Linked DNA regions of Homo sapiens: region 1 is linked to region 2. Evidence: promoter capture Hi-C in 16 types of primary human blood cells and fetal thymus (Javierre and others, 2016). All regions are on one chromosome and are shown on one strand. The core of a region is centred on a gene start or on the middle of the fragment in contact, and the rest is flanking DNA. Distances in the headings are between cores, read along the strand shown. Region 1 overlaps SPART (spartin). Region 2 holds the start of CCNA1 (cyclin A1).

Region 1 (7,330 bases), core at 3,116-5,615, 130 kb after region 2:
CACAGAGAAGGCAGCACAACCAAACACACGAAATAACAGAAACTTTTTATTACTCACAGACCCTTGAGAGAAGAGCGGTATGCATGAGGGCCAACAGGAAGTCTGGAGATAGCAGAGTGCTCAACCAGTGGGTGGGGCGAGGGTGGGTGAACAAGGGAGCACGAGCAAGGGAGAGGTGATTTGTGTGACTGCCTTCACGAAAGTCTATGGGTGTTCTTCCTTTGGCTTTCCAGTGGGGCCTGTGGATTGACTAGTTTAAAGAAAACAAGTGTGAACAGGGGAACATTTACATGGCTCTAGTTTTACATGACTCTAGTGTTGACCATTGGATTTTCTCGTGGTCAGCAGCTGTGGGGGTGTGTTGGGTTTTGAGTCAGTGAGATGAGAAACAAGTATACTGTATTGCAGACAACCGCATGGGGGAGAGAGAAGTTTTAACTAGGCCAAAGGTGGTGGGATACAACTAGGTTTCAAGCAACTTATGTCAGGCCTAAAAATAAATGCTGAAGCAACAACTATATAACAAATTTATACAAGTGGTATTGAAGGTGAGAGTAAAGCAGGGTCTTCTGCTTTTAGCTCCTTATTCTTTCTACCTGACTCTACTTTCTTTATACAATACTAGAAGAATCAAGGTCTAAAAAATAAATCTAGTATGAAGGACCTGAGTTGCTTTCTTAGCCTTGAATTAGTTTGGATCTTACTATTTATTTAGAAAGAAAAAAGAAGAGCAATATTGATAGTATTCACAACTCGTGGTTATTTATGTTAATTATCCACTTATTGACAGCATTTAGTTGAGTTCATACTTTTGTATTAGGCACTGTGATCATTGCTTTTCCTACGTATTAATTAATTTTCAACACTGTTATCTCCATTTTGCAGATGAGGAAACCGAAATGTAAAGTTAAATACCTTGTTAAAGATTACTCTCCTAGTGAATAGTAGAGCTGGGATATAAACCAAGTGTTTCTGTCATCAGAACCTGTGCTCTACAGTGCTAATTTAATTTCCATCCTTAATTGGTTCGATCTGCTCCGTCTGGGGCATGAATACATTTGTTTGTTTGTTTTAAGATAGGAAGTAGGAATTGCTTTATTTTTACTTTTTTTATAATTTCAACTATTATTATAGATTAAAGGGTACATGTGCAGGCTTGTTACATAGAATTTGTTGTGTGATGCTGAGGTTTGGGGTACAAATGATCCCATCACTCAGGTAGTAAGCATAGTACCCAATAGATGGTCTTTTAGCTCACACTCCCCTCCTCCCTCCCCGGCCTAGTAATCCCCAGTGTCTATTGTTGTCATCTTTATGTCCATGAGTATCCAGTGTTTATTTCCCATTTATAAGTGAGAACATGTGGTTTTCTGTTCCTGCATTAATTCGCTTAGAATAATGGCCTCCAGCTGCATCCATGTTGCTGCAAAGGATATGATTTCATTTTTTTAGGGCTGTGTAGTATTCCATGGTGTATATATTAGCATGTTTTCTTTGTGCAGTCCACTGTTGATGGGTACCTAGGTTGATCCCATGTCTTTGCTGTTATGAATAGTGCAGTGAACATGTGAGTGAGTGCATGTGTCTTTTTGATAGAACAGTTTATTTTCTTTTGGGTATCAAATGGTAATTCCATTTTAAGTTTTTTGAGATATCTCCCAAAAGTGGCTGAACTAGTTTACATTCTGGGACATACATACCTTTGAATCAAATCAAAGCAATGTGGCATATCATTTTGGAGTGTCAGTTTTTTTTTTTTTTTTGAGACGGAGTTTCACTCTGTCACCCAGGCTGGAGTGCAGTGGCGCAATCTTGGCTCACTGCAACCTCCGCCTCCCAGGTTCACACCATTCTCCTGCCTCAGCCTCCCTAGTAGCTGGGACTACAGGTGTCCGCCACCATGACCGGCTAATTTTTTGTATGTTCAGTACAGACAGGGTTTCACTGTGTTAGCCAGGATGGTCTTGATCACCTGATTTCGTGATCTGCCCACCTCGGCCTCCCAAAGTTCTGGGATTACAGGCGTGAGCCACCACACCTGGCCAGAGTATCAGTTTTACCAAGAGTTGAGAGATAAAACATACAATAGATCTCAAATTCTTCTGATAGAAATATGAAACTCAAGTCTTCCAACTCACTTCTTGTCACCTGTGGCCTGAACTCTAATATTCATTCATTGTTTTATGACCCTGAGGTTACTTTGGATCAGTCATAATTAGAAAAATAGTTCTTTATTTGTAGCAAGAACAGGAGAAATTCAGAAATGCCTTTCAGGCCAAAAGTGAATTATTTTTAGATTATCATATTAGAAAATAGGAAGTGCTTTGTTGGGTTTTATGGCCTACTCTAATGAAAAAAAAAAAAAAAAACTTACCTAACTACAATTAGCTTATTAAAAGTTTGGGATTCACATAACTAGGAAATACTGGATTTTAATGTAGATTTTGTACTTCTGGTCCTTAATGAGAACTTAATATGATAAATAGCATATTTTTAACAGTGATTCTCAGCTCATTTATTTCTATTGTATTATTGCTATTCTTTTTATCCTTTCTTCCAAAGATTCATGGAATTTAAATAAAAACCAGGTAAGTGAGAATTTAGTTAAGTAGCTTTGTATTTCTAACTATGAGGATGATTCAGTCTTAGCAGTAATTTAGTTTCTGCTATTAGAAATTTAGAAGGATGGGAGAGGCAGTAGGGAATAAAAGATTTTATCTAAGTAATACTGTTTCTCACCTTTGGAGCTAATCTGGCCCAAAGTAGAAAATGTCTTTTAAGAGAAGAAACTAAAAGTATTGAACCAGTAATAACTTAGTGATAGAACTGAAGAAATGGAAAAGCTTGTTGTACCTTTGTTTAATTTTGTTCTTATTTGTTTACATACACTTAGGTTTATTTACACTCTTCTGTATTTAAGTTTACTATCAAAAAGTATTTGATAGAATGACCATTTGTGGAGTACTCAAATCGAACTGATGGTAGTATAATAAGGGAAATTTGTGTTCTTAATTGCCTGTGATAAGCGATTGCTCTCCAAAATAGTTATTTTAAATGTCCTTTAATTTTATGCTTGGGAGAAAACCAAATGTATTATATAAACTTCCTTATCTGATTTCAGGTGGATAAGCCAGTACAAAGGATTAAATAACTATACTCTTAAAATTTTTAGCTAAATGCATAAAAAATATTCATTAAGATTCAGTTTATTTTTGTCAGTTACATTAATACTTTTGTCTTATATTTGGGGATGTGAAGACATACAGGAATAATGAAAAACAATAAGTAACTTTAAACCTGCTACACTTAATTGCGGTATAGTACCTATTCAATAATTCATCATTCTACATATGAAGCTTAAGTTTCACCTTTAAGCTTCTTTTATTCCACTTTAAAGTGTTTAAAGAATAATAATATAGCTTTGATAGTTAGATCTATTTTTATTTTCCCCAGCAATATTTTCTTTGAATATATATTTGTGGAACATAAGCTTAATAATAGACTTTTTTTCCTGTAGAAAATTTACTGTTTTATGGTTTTTGGTACTATGCTATAGTTAAGTGTAGCTGATTTATTGGTTTGTTTAGTGAAATTTAATTAAAATTCCTCCTAAATTTGCACTGGATGAAGGGGTAACTTCAATGACAGGTGTCATATTACCCAAAACCAGTTTTGTATAACTGAACACATTGGAGAAATTTCAGAAAAATCTGGTTCAATTGTAGTTTTGAATCTCGTTGACTTATTTAGGCCTACTTCACATTCATTTTTTATTATTTTTCAATTGGTAGTGTTAGTATATAAAATCCGACTTAATGAGCTCTAATTAAAGTAAATTTGTTTAAAAATAAGAGATCAAAAATAAATTTAACTTCCTCCCAGACATATGCTTTCTAGGAGTTTATAGCAGTATAGTTTGAATCTGAAGAAAAGGACTAAACAGTTATTTATGAAGAAAAGAACATATGCCTATTAGGAAAACTAGTTCTAAGGCATATTGGAAAGCAGGAGTGATAGTTGAGGATATATTAAAAAATAAATACAACTGATGAAAAGCTGTTTTATAGTATATTTAAAAATACATGTTTAGTATTTTAGAATTTTAAAACTGCTTTCACACATATACATCGTTTTTTTGAGATAAAGAAGAGAAAGTTGATGATATGTAAAGAGGTAGAAACTTGACCAAGGTCATATGGCTAGTTACTGGCATAGTTGGCATTAGAATCTAGTTTTCTGAATATTCTGTTTTTTTTTCCCAAATTAATAGGAATTGTTACTGACATTGGAGATAGCATAGAAAAACAGACAAAATTAACAAGGTGCAAAACAAATTCATTTTTAGTACGTTATTAAAGACAATGTAGTTTTTAGAACTGTGTTACATACAGAAATATGAGTGCAGCTGGAGGTATCAAACTGTATCAGTGGAATAGGGAACATTCCAAATTCTCAGAAGTGGAAGTTTGTGAATATGGAGGATTTCCTATGCTTGAAAACATGACTGTGAGTTATGTTGTGAGTTATGTTGAGTTATGGTGTCACTTCATTGTAGCTCACATGGTTCTGGAAAAATAAGCCCTCAGGGAAACCGGCTCCACCAAGAGTTACGGTCACTGTTTTTCAGTGCTGAAACTGCTGATACCTTTCTTTTTGTATAGACACAGCCATTACCACCTGACAGTAGTATTTGTTACTGGGGCTTGGTTGACAATGAGAAGGCACCATCAGCAATGGTGCATCTCCTGCACTATCAGCAAATCCTGTGGAATGCTGAGGGGTTGCATAACAGGGACTGTCCGAAGCAGTTGTAGGAAGTTTTTCTGTCTGTTGACTGGTGAGAAGGCCCCCAATTAAGAGTAGTACAGACTTGGAAGGTTTGACAGACTAGGCTCTGCTGTGTGCTAGCTCTAATATAATTATTAACATTAGGCAAAGGACAGAATAGAATCATCCTTTAGGGGCACTATAAGATTATTTCACACTGGGGTTAAAAAAGCCAAGCACAAACAAGCCGGTGGGATCACAAACCACTGTTCTAGGCCAGGCTATTTAGTAATAGAGGACTTGTTAATTCAAAAGGCAGATCTAGTGTTATATAAGATGTCCAGATATAGGTCATAAAGCATCTAGGAAACTTCACTGTGTCCTGGAGAAAATGTAAACTTTTGCCTCTTTGTTTTGTTTGTTGTTTAAACAGTCCTCTATTTGGGGGAAATCTGTGGACAAGAAAAGCTTTAAAAGCCTGTTACCAAAATGGGGTAAAGAGTAAAACAAAACAGTAGGGAAATGTGTTTTGGTGTGCCTGTATAGGACCTCAAATTGTATTTTATCATAGAAATAGTATTAAATGCAGATATTATTATTATCAATAATAACTTCTTTTGTATATGCTTTATAATTTCCCAAGCACTTGCTATGCATTTGATGCTCAAAAAACTCTGAGGCAGATAGGGCAGGAATTACTGATTTCATTCATTCAGTGAATATTCATTGAATATCAGGTACTATTCTCAATGTTTAGGATATGTTAAAGGACAAAGGTAAGATTCTCCTCTCCAATAGGGTTTACATTCTAGTGAGAGAAGCAAGACATGAACAGTGATAATTAATAAGTTCTATAGTATGTAGAAAGTGGTAAGTAATGGGAGAAAAAAAGCAGTGTAAAGGGGAATCGATTGTCAAGAGGTGGAGGTGGGCATGTGGAAAAAGGCAATTTAAACAGGTTAGATAATGAGATTATAGTTGAGCCAACTTGAAGAAGGTGAGGCAGAGAGCTATGGGAAGTCCAAGCAGAGAGCAGCCAGTACAAAGGTCCTAAGGCCTTTGAGTGCTTGGTGGGCTCAAGGAACAGCAAGGAGGCCAGTGAGTGTGCAGTAGAGTGGGATGCAGGGGAGAATGCCATAGAATCTCTGTTTAAAGATTAACTCAAATTCCCATAATTAAAAGACATAGCCAAAGTCTGGTTAAGGTAGAACTTGAAACTACTTACGTGACTCTAGATTAGTTGCTTCTGTGAATATTTTCCCTCATATTTCTAGAAAGGGAGGATTAAAAAAAGAAATAATGACTGATTAATGACCTGTATTATAATTTACACTTTTATTTTTACTTGACAGTCTTTATTACATCATTCTCAGCTAGTCTGAGTTTATTTTCACACACTGTTTTTACTAAAGGAGAAAATACTGCTTTGTCACAGAGTGTGATTTCATTCTCTACTGTGTTTTAAGTTATTAATTAAATTGAAACCTAAGCTTTAATTTTGCTTTCAGGGGTAACACAGTAATCATTTGACTTATTTAATACTAATTCAGAAGACCTTATTTTATATTTATTGTTTCATTGTATGTCCTCTAATCTTTCTTTTAAAGATACGGATATAATGCAGGAGAAGCTACCCACCATGCGGTGGATTCTGCGGTCAATGTTGGCGTAACTGCCTACAATATTAACAACATTGGTATCAAAGCAATGGTGAAGAAAACTGCAACACAAACAGGACACACTCTCCTTGAGGACTATCAGATAGTTGATAATTCTCAGAGGGAAAATCAAGAAGGAGCAGCAAATGTCAACGTGAGAGGGGAGAAGGATGAGCAGACGAAGGAAGTAAAGGAGGCAAAGAAGAAAGATAAATGATGAAGTGCTGGGAATCACTTATACCAAAGCCTTATGAAATGGATGAAATTTTGTTAAATAGGCAAATGTGGAATTCCTCACAGATTAACCAGTATTTTTTAAATGTATTCATTCCTACAAATTAACTTTCATAAATTTTATGGCATGTCTTCTATTTAAAAGGAAAAGAATAAGTATTCTTGCATCTGGCCTTAGAAATGTGAAGTTATATTCTCAAGTTTATTTTTTTCCAAGTGTAGCTAAAATATTTTTGCAGGTAAAATAAAGCTGATAGTACATGTGTTGTTCAAACCTTGTTAAACCTAATATTGAACTATTTTTATATCTGCTGTCTTTCAGAAGGCAAATAGGAAACTATATATTTGCTTAAAAATTGGCATTTAGTAACCTTAATTCTTTTTATAGAAGGAATGACTTAAAGTATTGTCCCCTCTTTTTGCACTAATTGTGGATTTTTTTAGATGCTTCTCAAAATTTTCAGTGTGTAAGCTAAACAAAAACTAAAACTAAGAATTCTCAAAAAAACTTGTTCAAAACAGGGAAAGACTGATGAAAAGTAAAATGGACTACTTTTGTAACTTACCTGTTTGTTAGGAAATGGAATGGTCTCTTTGATTTAAAATAAATAAAAATAGATTATTACGTCTTTTGTATTGAGACTGTATTGTTATGAGCCTAGGAAATTTGG
Region 2 (7,586 bases), core at 1,656-4,155:
AACATTCATCCAACAAACAATGTGTGCCATCCTGGCCAGGCCCAGGTCTGTTCAAAGTAATGGACACACAACAGTGAACATGACAACCTAAATCAACACCTGGATGGAGCTTACATGTTAGTGGGAAAGGCAACATTATATATGTCAAGATACGACAAACTCTCAAGATATGTGGCTTTAAATGGGATAGCTTCTGTCCCATTACTTAAATTTCTTTAAGCACTTAAATTACTTTAATCGACATAATGCAAACAGCTCCTAGACCTATTTCCTTGATATTGGAAAACTAACAAAGAAAATTCGTCACCATTTCTAGCTGAAAAAGGGACCGGTCAAGGTGATTTTACAAAGTCAACTTCTTCCCTGTGGTCCAGATTCCAGGGTTGTAATACTCAGAGGGAGCGTTTAGTTGAAAGGTTTTTAAGATGGGAAAATGGCAATATATTTGTATGCTTACAGATTTGGCCCAGTAGAAAAGAAAAAACTCATGAGAGAAAGAAAAGTGGCTAGAGTAACATCCTTGAAGAAGCAAGAAGACACGAGTATATTGTACGCATGGCGCGGGGGGGGGGGCACCTCTCATGACAGCAGGGACATAGCAGTCACATAACAGGATGTAGATGGCAGATTATATGGCACACAGGGACATGTGGAGATTCTCTTCTGCTTGCTTCTATATTTTTAGGAAAATAAGATACAAAGTGATCAGCTGAGACTGGGCATGAAGGAGGAGGTTACTGAGGATTAAACAGAGAAGGGAAGGTACAAAATAGATTTCTAAGCAGGTTGTAGAGGATAGGTACAGGGAAATGCAGAAGTGGCACCAGGTAACATAAGAGGTTAGCAACTGGGAATTTAAAATGCGACCATTCAACACAGGCACAACTGACAATTCATAAGAACCAAGTCTCAGGCGTTAAGTTTTAAAAAGCAAACATTGCTAAGCAAATTAAAATTTGTTAAAACCACTTCCACTCAATTTTCTCCAAAGCTTTGAACAGAGCATGTGAAGAGTCAGTAGATGAGAGGCTTCTAATCTAGTTTCTACCATAGCTTTCTTTTGGCAGAGGCTTAAACCTTTCAGATTTTCTCACTTATGAAATAGGAAAGGTATAGTTTTCAGTCTGGTTAAGGTATCTATGATCAGTTAAGTTCACACAACTAATATCTGAGGGACCATTACCTGTTAGCATAGCTGCTTAGTCAGTACTGGGAAGATGTCTGCCTTCAAAGCACCCATTTTGGAGTAATCTAATCTAGCCTGATCTAATCCTGATTTTAACACTATCCGCAATGAACACAGCCAAGATTATCCAGGTTTGCTTTAGGCACAGCCTGCATCAATGTGAACACTGCTCTAACCTGGAGGAACCCCAGTTCCACAGTTTATTTGGAAGCATTCACATTTCCTTTTAGCCCAGCCCTTAAATTACTTTAATATACATAACCCAAACAGTTCCTAGACCTATTTCCTTGATAGTGGAAAAAATAACAAAGAAAACTAATCACTATTTCTAGCTGAAAACCGAACCCCTCAAGGTGATCTTAAGAAATCAACTGGCCTGCCACCGTGGCTGACGCCTGTAATCCCAACACTTTGGGAGGCCGAGGTGGGCGGGTCACCTGAGGTCAGGAGTTGGTGACCAGCCTGGCCAACATGGTGAAATCCCATCTCTACTAAAAACACAAAAATTAGCCGGGCGTGGTGGTGGGTGCCTGAAATCCCAGCTACTCGGGAGGCTGAGGCAGGAGAATCGCTTGAACCCGGGAGGTGGAGGTTGCAGTGAGCCGAGATCGCGTCACTGCACTCCAGCCTGGCGACAAGAGCGAAACTCCGTCTCAAAAAAAAAAAAAGAAGGAAAGGAAAGGAAAGAAAAAAAAAGGAAAGGAAGAAGGAAGAGAAACAAAGAAAAAGAAAGAAGGAAAGAAAGAGAAAGAAAAGAAAGAAAGAAAGAACGAAAGAAAGAAAGAAAGAAAGAAAGAAAGAAAGAAAGAAAGAAAGAAAGAAAGAAAGAAAGAAAGAAAGAAAATAAATCAATCAACTTTCCTGTAGTCCAGATTCCAGGGTTGTAATACTCAGGGGGAGTTGTAGGTACAAGGGCAAGAGAAAAGCACCTGGCACCAAAGCAGGAGAGCTGTTCTCCACAAGCATCATTCTCAATGCGTCTGAGTCATTACCTGGCCACAGGTCCTCCTGTACTGCCCATTTGCAGTTAGCAGCCCTAGCACTGTCCTCTGCGGGGGATCCTGGCCCAGCGGGGCTCTGGTGAGTATCTGACAAGCATCGGGACCTCGGGCCACTGTAGCCAGCACAACTCCACTCTTGGGGTTGCTGCAGTGCATTGCTTCAGACTCCACGGGCTGCTGCTACCAGGGAAAGAGAAACAGACAAGCTGTTTAGTCGATTCCGTCCACCCCGGGCTCCAAGGACACAGCGAACCTCTAGGAGGGAGAGCACCAAGCAATGGGACTAACACCAATTGCTGATCTTCCCAGTAATTATTGGGGCTGAAAGGGCAGGTGCGACCGCACAGGCGATCAAAGTTGCTCTGAATCAAAACAGTTATTTGAATCCCTGAGGGAGGCTTTTTATCCCAAGACTTCGTGTTGGGCTGGAAGGAGAGAAACATTCTGACAAGCCTCCAAGTCGGGATACTAAACCCACGTTACCTGGAAGACGAAATCTGGGAGCCCCGGTCCTTCCCAGCTGAGATACTCTTCTCCCCAGCCCCCAATAAAAGATCCAGGGTACATGATTGCGGGAAAGCCGGTCTCCATCCCAAGTGACGAGCAGGGTGCTGCGCTGCGGCCTCCTCCCACCAGACAGGAGGCCCCAAAACCTGCCTGGACCCCAAAGCGGGCCCCGCTCTTCCCGTCGTTATCTTTCTATGTGTCCGGAACAACTGGCAAGTGCACTGGAGGATCGCGGTTAAGAGGTGGCCGGCTGGGCGGGGCAGGGCGGGGCAGGGTTGGGCAGGGCCGGGCCGGGCCGGGCGGGGCAGGGCGGGGAAGGGCAGGGAAGGGCAGGGCACGGAAGGGCGGGGCGGGAAGGACCAAGTGTCGAGGGATTCCAGCCTGGGAGGCGGCCGGGCTTAGCGATGCGGCTGAGCTGCCCACCCGCGTCTGTTGAATCGGCCAATCAGCGGCGCCCCCGGACCTAGCGGGAGCGTTTCCATGCCGACCGCGGCAGGCGTGCGCTCTCCGGGGCCGCATCGCCATGGCGACCTGCTCACCTGACTCGCTCCGGGTGGACTCGCCGCGACCCCTGGGCGTTCAGGCCCCTGAGGGCCCAACGGGCGACGGCCCTCCAGCTCCAGCTGTGCGTCTCCGCCCGGGCGAGGTGGGGCTGACCGCGGCCGTCTGCACACGTCCCCTCTGGTCCGCGCCCCCGGCCTGGGAGGGCGGACTCGCCCACCCCACGATGGCCCCGGCTTTGGAAGGGACTGTTTCCGTGACCCGTTCTCCCAACAGCCGCTAACAACCCCCTCTAACGTCTCCTGCGCGGCCCGCTCCTGAGAACCCTGGCTCGGGAGAGCGACGCGGGGTCCTCGGGGCTGCGCAGGCTGCGGCGCCCTGCCCACGCTGGCCCGAGGGCGCGGCTCGCTCCGGGTCGGCTCACACACCTACGCTTCCTGCCGGGAGGCGGCTGGGACGCGGCGGGGCTGCCCCAAGTGCAGTCGCGGCAGTGTTGCGTCTCCATCGCGGGGGTCCTTGCGGGCCGCGCCTGCCCCGCCCGGCTCCCGGTGCATGTGGCCTGCGAGGCGGCAGAGGAGATGTGGGGATTTAGGGTCGCACGTCGTGCTCGAGGTCCCCACGAGAGGTCTTCCCCCGCGGGCTCCTGCGCAACTGCGTGAAGCCGGCCCGGGAAAGCCAAGATTGTGGCCCAGGAAGAGGAAGGAACGCGGGCGACAGAGCTGGGGCTTGGGACGTTGAGGGGGTCGGTGGCAGCTCTCCGGGCTGGGGGCCGGGCGGGCGGCCCGGCCGCGTGGGGAGAGGAGTCCCTGGGGTCCTTATACGGGGGGCTCCTGGAAACCCGGGGGCTCAGACGCCTGCATAGGTGACTGACAAGCCAGGTGAAATAATCGAACTTTATTTTTTTAAAAATAATATGTATATATGCACACACACATTACCAATGCTATAGTCTGTTACTACTTTTGCTTTTTTTAAAACATCCATCCCTAAATCTCTAAATCAGATCCAAAGTCTATTCAAATGGCCACTTTATGCAAGCAACGGTTATCACCGTTTTTCTAAGTGTGCGTTATTAACATTTTCACCAAGCAAACTGAGTGTGGACATTGCTTTAATGGGAAGATAGTAGTATTCTAACAAAAGCGCCGGTTGAAAGCCTTGCAGTTGAGGTAAATATTAAGAAGTTGGTAAGCATCTGGAGAATCAAGGCTGGATGAGGGAGGAACGCAGAAACGGATCTTGTTCAACATGAAACTCATTTCTATACGTTTGTCACAGACTTCTATTCCTTGAGAGACAGCAGTCCGCTTGCACCCCAGATTTCCTGTGCCTTTGAATATGAAGGAAACACGGGAATTCTGGTAACATCTAGATTGCCGCAACAGAGAGTCAGAGGCCAACGGGGACCAAATGCTCTGCTTCGAAAGGTGAATGAAAGGAGCATTTCTGTCCTCTTGCCTGACGCCACTATTGGATATCTTCCCGGGCGCCCTCCCCCACCTGCCAACAGTGTTGTTATTTCCTGGGTCGCTGAAGGACTCAGTGGCTAACTCCGTCTGGGACTCTACAGCAAGTCCTGCCAAGAGCCTGAGTCGCTTGGGAGCGGACAAGATTGGCTGCGCTCACGAGACCTGGTCCTTTGTACACCCCTTTTCATCTGATTTCCTTTGACAAAAATGACCGAAACCTCACGCCCTTTTCCTTTTCTCCAAAGTAGAGGCGCCGGCGCAGTGTTTGTTCGTGGAACCTGTCGTTTTGATCCACTTTTCTGGGATTGAAGCTGAAGCCAGTGTTGGAGTCGGGGCGTGCAGGGAGTGGGGAGCGCCCAACTCCTGCAGAGGCGGATCTGAGGCTGGTTTTTCTCAACTCAGATCTGGCCAGGACCAGATGACAAGGCTACAAAGGTGTCCAGTGACTTTCAGCCGTCTTTAGCCTTAAAAAAGCCTTAAGAAATAATAGTAACCAAATGAGACCTTCGGATAATTTAATACCCCTCCCCTTATCTGAATGGCTGCACCTTAATCCAGCCTTAATCTATATGAAATAGGATTATCATGAACATCTTTTTTCCTGTTCCATCCACTTTGCTAAACTTGGCAAAGGGAAGTGGTTAGTTTATGATTGTTTTATTGTGCTGTCTTAGAATTCTACATTGTCGTTACAAGCCTCTGGTCATATCTTAAACAGGAGAGTGAGTCCCATGAACTGATATCTATGTGTGCATGTAAATTCAGGTACGTGTATAACTTGTGCAATACTTATGGCTTTCTTGGCTTTAAAAAATATCTACACTGAGGCCGGGCACGGTGGCGTACGCCTGTAGTCCCAGCACTTTGGGAATCCGAGGCAGGCGAATCACGAGATCAAGAGATCGAGACCATTCTGGCCAACATGGTGAAACCCTGTCTCTGCTAAAAATACAAAATGTAGCTGGGCGTGGTGGCGCGCGCCTGTAGTTCCAGCTACTCAGGAGGCTGAGGCAGGGGAGTAGCTTGAACCCGGGAGGCAGAGGTTGCAGTGAGCCCAGATCATGCCACTGCACTCCAGCCTGGTGACAGAGCAAGACTCCATATCAAAAAAAAAAAAAAAGTCTTCACTGAATATTGTGTTCCAACGAGTAATGATTTATGACATAAAAACAAATTTAACTGAATAGGTGTTCCATTTTTACTTTAAAAATCTAAACTAAAAACTTGGCCTTAGAATTAAGAACAAAAGGAGCAGAGAGAGTAGAAAGGACTTTCTCACAAATTGCACAGTTTTAGTGGAATGCATAATTATAATGTTGCATTTAGCAACATTATAATCTAATCTTGATTTTGCTATGCAAATCAGGATTAGATTTGCATAGCAAAATAGGATTAGAACTCAAACATAAGTAGATTTTAATTTTTCCCATCTTTAAATAAACTATATATTTGGTAATATATTGAGAATTAAACAATATAATTGTAAATACAACTTTCTTTAATATCTAAAATATTTGGCATAACTTAAATACTAATATAACCCCTTTTTTTTTAACTTAAAAAGTTCATTGGTCGGCACTTCCAACCTGGCAGTGAATGCTCAACTAGCTTTAACTCTAGGATTAATTTTCAAAATAAGGATGACAGCTGAATTCTTTACTAGGAATTTTGTTGTTGTTGTTGTTGAGACGGAGTCTCGCTCTCACCCAGGCTGGAGTGCAGTGGTGTGATCTCGGCTCACTGCAAGCTCCGCCTTCCAGGTTCACGCCGTTCTCCTGCCTCAGCCTCCCAAGTAGCTGGGACTACAGGCGTCCGCCACCAGGCCCGACTAATTTTTTTTTTGTATTTTTAGTAGAAACGGGGTTTCACCATGTTACACAGGATGGTCTCGATCTCCTGACCTCGTGATCTGCCTGCCTCGGCCTCTCAAAGTGCTGGGATTACAGGCGTCAGCCACCGTGCCCGGCCCTTTACTAGGAATTTTTAAAACCCAAAAGTCCTATTAAAATCAATTCCCTTGTCCAAATTACAATTCAGACAGTCCTTTCAGTTTGTCAGCAATTACCCGGTATTTCAGAGGCAGTTTTTCTATTGCATTTGTTCATCCTAGCTAGTAATTAACCTCCTGTTGAAACATTTCAGTTTTTATTAATTAGTATGAAATCAGGTTGTTTTTCAGGATGAGGCTGAAAGAAAGATTTAAAAAAAAACCCGCCAAGTTTATTTAGGGACAGAGGTCCATTTAGGGACATATGTTGCCTCTTCATAACATGCCTCTGTCATTCTCAGGTATACATTTAACTAAGAACATAGTTTGAACAGTAAAATGAGAGATATATGTTGGAAAGAAACAAGGAACCAGCTGCAATTTGTGACATTTTAGCACTTAGCTCCAGGGAAGATGACTAACGGATTGAGCAAGTCCAGCTTGAAAAGCAGCCAAAACTGTACACACCTTAAGAAGCATATTTCATCAGGTAGTGAAACGTGGATCCCTTAGTACATAATGGGTGAAGTAAGTTTTCATTAAGACTTGTAAGAAGTCACCTTCTCCAAGTGAAAATGGTATGAATACATACATGAGATTAGACAAAGTCTACTGTTCATTCATTCATTTGGCAAAGTTTTTTGAGCATCCATTGTATGCCAGGCAGTAGCTGGGTATGAGTACGATAATAAAAAATGATCCCTGCCCTCAAGGAGCTGTTCCTCCAGGCAAGGAAAAATAACAGATAGTCATGGTGCAGCATAATTAGTGTTTATTTTACCATAAGGAATACAGATGTATAAAGGGGGAGCAGTTGGAGCTTAAGAGAAAAGAAACAAGGTATGTTGCTGGGAAGACTTGGAGGCAGTATCCAGATGATTAAGGTCTTAAAGACAGAGTGAGGGCCTGGCACGGTGGCTCACGCCTGTAATCCC

What was found. The method cuts DNA at HindIII sites, captures the fragments that hold promoters and counts their contacts. A CHiCAGO score of 5 or more calls a contact.
Region 1: a contact is called between a fragment that was not itself captured here and the fragment with the promoter of CCNA1 in region 2, in 1 of 17 cell types (M2 macrophages). The highest score is 6.1, in M2 macrophages.

Annotation. Positions count from the first base shown.
Region 1 is chr13:36,303,677-36,311,006 of GRCh38, reverse strand. SPART (spartin) reads left to right here. Exons shown (of 9, transcript NM_015087.5): 9 at 6,375-7,330. The coding sequence ends at 6,642. Among named protein-coding and RNA genes, the nearest start is that of CCDC169-SOHLH2, 9.5 kb to the right of the region's middle. The HindIII fragment of the contact is 1,745 bases long and covers 3,493-5,237 here.
Region 2 is chr13:36,427,814-36,435,399 of GRCh38, reverse strand. It overlaps CCNA1 (cyclin A1), which reads right to left and starts at 2,905. Exons shown (of 9, transcript NM_001413923.1): 1 at 2,671-2,905; 2 at 2,179-2,367. The coding sequence starts at 2,343. RefSeq lists silencers at 3,012-3,171, 3,202-3,251, 3,532-3,601. The HindIII fragment of the contact is 15,627 bases long and covers 994-7,586 here.